Regions from separate parts of the Homo sapiens genome. Here region 2 is linked to region 1. The links are contacts of gene promoters, found by promoter capture Hi-C in human tissues and cell types (Jung and others, 2019). All regions are on one chromosome and are shown on one strand. Each heading gives the region's core, a stretch centred on a gene start or on the middle of the fragment in contact. The rest is flanking DNA. Distances are from core to core; before and after follow the strand shown.

What was found. Contacts are between HindIII fragments. The study calls those that stand out against the background at their distance.
Region 2: a contact is called between a fragment that was not itself captured here and the fragment with the promoter of CBFA2T2 in region 1, in 1 of the 25 tissues and cell types used here (ovary).

What each region holds. Positions count from the first base shown.
Region 1 is chr20:33,488,634-33,491,563 of GRCh38, forward strand. CBFA2T2 (CBFA2/RUNX1 partner transcriptional co-repressor 2) reads left to right here and starts at 1,463. Exons shown (of 11, transcript NM_001032999.3): 1 at 1,463-1,668. The coding sequence starts at 1,635. RefSeq lists an enhancer at 630-1,178 and silencers at 1,273-1,492, 1,503-1,782. The HindIII fragment of the contact is 17,917 bases long and covers 1-2,930 here.
Region 2 is chr20:33,524,925-33,527,854 of GRCh38, forward strand. The region is part of intron 1 of CBFA2T2 (CBFA2/RUNX1 partner transcriptional co-repressor 2); the gene reads left to right. Among named protein-coding and RNA genes, the nearest start is that of CBFA2T2, 36 kb to the left of the region's middle. The HindIII fragment of the contact is 6,967 bases long and covers 1-2,930 here.

The DNA of each region.
Region 1 (2,930 bases), core at 213-2,712:
TTTCGGTTCACTGCAACCTCTGCCTCCCAGGTTCAAGCGACTCTCCTGCCTCAGCCTCCCGAGTAGCTGGGATTATGGACACCCGCCACCGCGCCCAGCTAATTTTTTTGTTTTGTTTTGTTTTGTTTTTTGAGAGGGAGTCTCGCTCTGTCACCCAGGTGGGAGTGCAGTGTCGTGATCTTGGCTCGGTGCAACCTCCGCCTCCGGGGTTCAAGCAATTCTCCTGTCTCAGCCTCCTGATTAGCTGGGATTACAGGCTTGTGAAACCAAGTCCAGCTAATTTTTGTATTTTTAGTACAGACGGGGTTTCACCACGTTGGTCAGGCTGGTCTCCAAATCCTGAGCTGTGATCTGCCAGCTTCGGCGTCCCAAAGTGCTGGGATTACAGGGGTGAGCCACAGCTCCTGGCCTTGTTTTGTTTTTTTGATACGGAGTTTTGCTCTTTTTGCTCAGGCTGGAGTGCAATGGCTCCGATCTCGGCTCACTGCAACCTCCCCCTCCCGGATTCAAGTGATTCTCCTGCCCCAGCCTCCCGAGTAGCTGGGACTAAAGGCACGCGCCACCGCACCAGGCTAATTTTTGTATTTTTATTTATTTATTTTTTTAGTAGAGATAGGGTTTCACCTTATAGGCCAGACTGGTCTTCAAACTCCTGACCTCGTGATCCTCCCGCCTCGGCCTCCCAAAGTGCTAGGATTACAGGCTTGAGCCACTGCGCCCGGCTCTAAGTTTTGTATTTTTAGTAGAGACAGCGTTTCGCCACATTGGCCAGACTAGCCTCGAAGTTCTGACCTCAGGTAATCCACCCTCCTCGGCCTCCCAAAGTGTTAGGATTATAGGCCTGAGCCACCGTGCCTGGTCTATTTTTTATTTTTATTTATTTATTTTTTTAATAGAGACGCTAGTCTCAAACTCCTGAGCTCAAGTGACTCTCCTTTGGCCTCCCAAAGTACTAGGATTACAGGCGTGGGCCACCACGCCCGGCCAACAGTTATTAAAATTACGATGATGAAATTTTAGGCATTTAGAATACTTCAGGCCAAAAACACTTTGAGCCAGGGGGCTCGCTCAAAGGCATGCGCAAAAGCCATCAGGCCTGTACCTGGAGAACTCAGGTGAGACGTTGCCACTCGTTGTAATCCCTCCCCCTAGCACTCGGCCCCCGAGCCTGGGCCACTGCCCTGGCTACACCGGGAAGTCTGGAGCTAGAAAGTGGGCCGTGCGCGTGACGGGCGCGCGTGACGCCGAGGGGGCAGGTCTGAGAAGCAGGCTGCGCCGGGATTCGGCGGTCGGTTCCCGCGGAAGGGGCGGGTCAGGTTAGGGGGCGGTGCTTAATGGGAGCTGGTCTTGGGGCCGGGCTTCCGCGTGCGTTGGCCTGGCGGCGAGAGCGCGCGGCGGGGGCGTGCCCGGCGGGCGGGGCGGGGCCAGCCGGGGGCGGGGCGGGGCGCGGCCTAACGGCGGCGGCGGCGGCGGCGACGGCGACAGCAGCGGTGGTGGTGTCTGGTTAGCTCGGCGGCTGCAGATCTCGCGGCGACGCCTGCGAGGGACCCGGGCCGCGGGTCGAGGCGGGCGGCGCCTGCGAGGGACCCGTGTCGCGGGTAGAGGCGGGCGGCGCGCGGCGGCGGCGCTCGGCGATGGTAGGCGTCCCTGGAGCGGCCGCCTTCCAGCGTAAGTGGGGCGTGAATGCGGGCGGCCGAGGGGGGCGTGTGAGGGCCTGCGGCTCCGCAGGCGCGGTGATTCCGAGTGCCCCGGGCGCGAGGCCGGGAGTGGAAACTGAGGCCCGAAGCGGGGCGGCGGATCCAAGGTCACGCAGCGGGGCGGGCCTTCCCGGGCTCCTGAGGCCACCCCGTCGCTTCCTGCGCCGCCCGAAGAGCTCGGGGCTCACGGTGTGAGGGAAATTGTGGGGCCCGCGGCCTCGGAACTTAGGCCGGGCCGGCGTCCATGGGACTTGCCGGCGGGCAAGAATCATTTTGTTGTCCCAGCGCTGGGGCCACGAAGTCCGGCTCCTGGGGAAATACTACACCCGCCCGATGTTGAGGGTTGGAGGAGATGAGAATGGCCCCTCGGAGGGCCTGTTTGAGCGCAGGCTCAGTAGTTGGCTACCTGGGTTCACATCCAGGCTTCCCCATTTAGGTAGTGACCTTGGCTCTCCCGGTGCCTCAGTTCCCCCATCTGCAAAATGGGGATGTGGAGCGGGTTCCCTCCCTCCCCCAGGGTTCTTGGGTTTTGTGAGGCCAGTAAAACGCTTGACACCGACCGTGGCACACACACAATTGTGAAAACTGTCATTATTGTAATCGTCCTTTATTAATCTGATCCAGTGTGCACCGCACTCGGAAAAGTCCGAAATTAGGCTCTAGCCGTGTTAAGATTTTGTTTTGTTGTCTGTTAGTCCTGCTCCATGATCTAATTGTTATTCTTACTTCCATTTAGCCATTCCAGTATTTATCTAGTGTTCCTCCTTGATGTGTGAGATCCTTGGGGGAGGGGTGGCTTCTCTGAATAAGAACAATAAAATTTTAATTGTTTTTCATTATTGTAATTATAATAGCCAACATTTTTTTGAGCACCAGACATTTTGCATTCTATTCACTTAATATTTATTAAATCATATAGTAAGTTTAAAAATACCATTCCAGGCCCTGGGAATACAATAAACAAGATAGACCGAACTGGGGTTTTGAGTTTAGTTAGGAGAGGGAGAGACATAGTAAATGAGGAAACAGATAAACATGTTTTGCATGTTTTTTTAATTGTTTAATCTTGATGACATCCTAAGTAAGACATTATTTGAGGATGCCCATTTTGCAGAGGATGAAACTGAGTAACAGAAGGTACTCTGAGTACTAGTCTCAGAGCTGATGTCCTTAAACACGTGAAAGGGAGGCTTTACGCTTCTTTTTTTTTGCACCCATTAAATGTTGGATTGA
Region 2 (2,930 bases), core at 193-2,692, 36 kb after region 1:
CCCGGGTTCAAGCAATTCTCCTGCCTCAGCCTCCCAAGTAGCTGGGCTTACAGGTGTGTGGCACCACGCCTGGCTAATTTTTGTATTTTTTAATAGAGAAGAGATTTCACCATGTTGTCCAGGCTGGTCTTGAACTCCTGACCTCAAGTGATCCACCTGCCTTGGCCTCTCAGAGTGCTGGGATTACAGGCGTAAGCCAGTGCACCCGGCCGCTTTTTTTGTAAATGGCTTTGTTGAGATATAATTCACATACCCTACCTCCATTTTTTTTTTTTTTTGAGACAGAGTTTGGCTCTTGTTGCCCAGGCTGGAGTGCAATGGCACAATCTCGGCTCACCACAACCTCCGCCTCCTGGGTTCAAGTGATTCTTATGCCTCAGCCTCCTGAGTAGCTGGGATTACCAGGCATGTGCCACCATGCCCGGCTAATTTTGTATTTTTAGTAGAGATGGGGTTTCTCCATGTTGGTCAGGCTGGTCTCGAACTCCCGACCTCAGGTGATCTTCCTGCCTTGGCCTCTCAAAGTGCTGGGATTACAGGTGTGAGTCACTGCACCTGGCCCTACCCTACTTCTTTAAGGTATACAATTTAATAGTTTTTAGTATGTTGACAAGGTTTTATAACCATCACTGCACACAGTGCAGTGAATATTTATATCACTCCGAAAAGAAACCCCATACCCATTAACAATTACTGTCTATTTTTCCTTTCCCCAGTCCCTAATCTACTTTTTTATTTTTCCCTTGAGATGGAGTCTGACTTTGTCACCCAGATTGGAGTGCAGTGGTACAGTCACAGCTCATCGCAGCCTCGACCACCTGGGCTCAAGCAATTCTCCCACTACAGCCTCCCAAGTAGCTGGAACCACTGGCACATGCCACCATGCCTGTGACCAGTTTTTAAATTATTTGTAGAGATGAAGTCTCACTTTGTTGCCCAGGCTGGACTCAAACTCCTGAGCTCAAGCGATCCTTGTGCCTTGGCCTCCCAAAGTGTTGGAATTACAGGTGTGAGCCACTGCACCTGGCCACGTAATCTACTTTCTGTCTATGGATTTGCCTTTGTGTTTTTTATTGGTGATTGGCCTTCAAGTATAATGCTGAAGTGCTGTCTCCTGTTTCCAAGAGCTAGAAAGCTATGCTGTACTTTAGAGGAAAATATATTAAATAAGCTTTGTTCAGGCTGTTTGACATGTTAATGAATCCTCCCGCCTTGGCCTCCCAAAGTGCTGGGATTACAGGCGTGAGCCACCGCGCCTGGCCTTACATATATTTTAAGTAAGGTGTTAACACTATATAATTCATCTGTGTAACCCAAAACTACTGTATCCCTAAGGCTATTGAAATTTAAAATAAGTAAATAAATAAGGTGTCTTTCATCAGAAACACATAAAAAAGAAGGTGTGTACTGATGATCTACTGACAAAAATGTGACTAGAGGCTCACAGGAACCTAACCGTGTGTTTTCCTCTAGGAGCAAAGGTTCAGGATTTGCTAGTTCAACGTTTGTAGCAATAAAAATAATCTATTATACCACATTTTGTTTATTCATTCATCAGTTGATGGATTTGTGACCTGTTTTCACTTTTTGGCTATTATAAATAAAGCCACTATAAACATTTGTTTACTGGTTTTTATGTGGACACGTTTTCATTTCTCTCACTGCGCCCAGCAATGAATACATTTATTTTATGGCAAAACTAAAAGTTTGTCAAACACCCAAATTCAGTATGATAAGTTAGCTTTTTATAGGATACTGACAGGTTATTGTGGGTACTCCAATCTTGTTCAGCAAGGCCAAATTTTCAAAAAAAAAAATGTAGATTTATTACAATAAGGGAAATATATATCTTAAGCTATATTTCCATGTGTTCTATGAAGACAACTCTGAGAGGAAGTTAGCAGTTTGTGTGGTTGGAAGCCTCAGAAAGTTCTCCTACTTCTATCTCTTACTCACCTGGCTTGCATTGCAATATTTAGGGTAAGAGTCACAAGCATACTCGGGTGCATTTGAATGATGGTCTAAGCAGATCTCTACACCTGTCGTTATCTGGGTTTGTGATCATTCCAGTGTTTCCTAAGTTTATAGGATGAATTGGCAGTAAGTGACTTTTGTTCCAGTCCTCAGCTGCATTATAAAGACAATACAAGACTATGCTGAAATAGCTATTTGGTAAAGTTTTGTAAACCCAGAAGCCTTTTTAAAAAGTATTGTTCTTCTTAATCTCTTAATTATAGTTTTTTAAAATCACATATCACTTAATTTTGTGTGTGTATTTTTGTTTGTTTGTTTTTTGAGATGGAGTCTCACTACATCACCCAGGCTGGAGTGCAGTGGTGTAGTCCCGGCTCACTGCAACCTCTGCCTCCCAGGTTCAAGTGATTCTCCTGCCTCAGCCTCCTGAGTAGCTGGGATTACAGGGCTGTGCCACCAGGCCCGACTGATTTTTTTTTTTTTTTTTTTTTTGAGATGAATTCTTGTTCTGTCGCCCGGGTTGGAGTGCAGTGGCGTGATCTTGGCCCACTGCAACCACTGCCTTCCGGGTTCAAGCAGTTCTCCTGCCTCAGCCTCCCAAGTAGCTGGTATCACAGATGCGTGCCACTACGTCCAACTGATTTTTGTATTTTTAGTAGAGACAGGGTTTCGCCATGTTGGCCAGGCTGGTCTCAAACTCCTGACCTCAGATGATCTGCATGTCTCAGGCTCCCAAAATGCTGGGATTATGGGAGTGAGCCACCTCACCCAGCCCTAAGTCTTATTGTTTTTTCTTTTCTTTTCTTTTTTTTTTGTTGTATTTTTAGTAGAGACAGCGTTTTGCCTTGTTAACCAGTTTAGTCTCGAATGCCTGACCTCAGGTGATCTGCCTGTCTTGGCCTCCCAAAATGCTAGGATTAGAGGTGTCAGCCTCCACTCCCAGCCTGATTTGTATA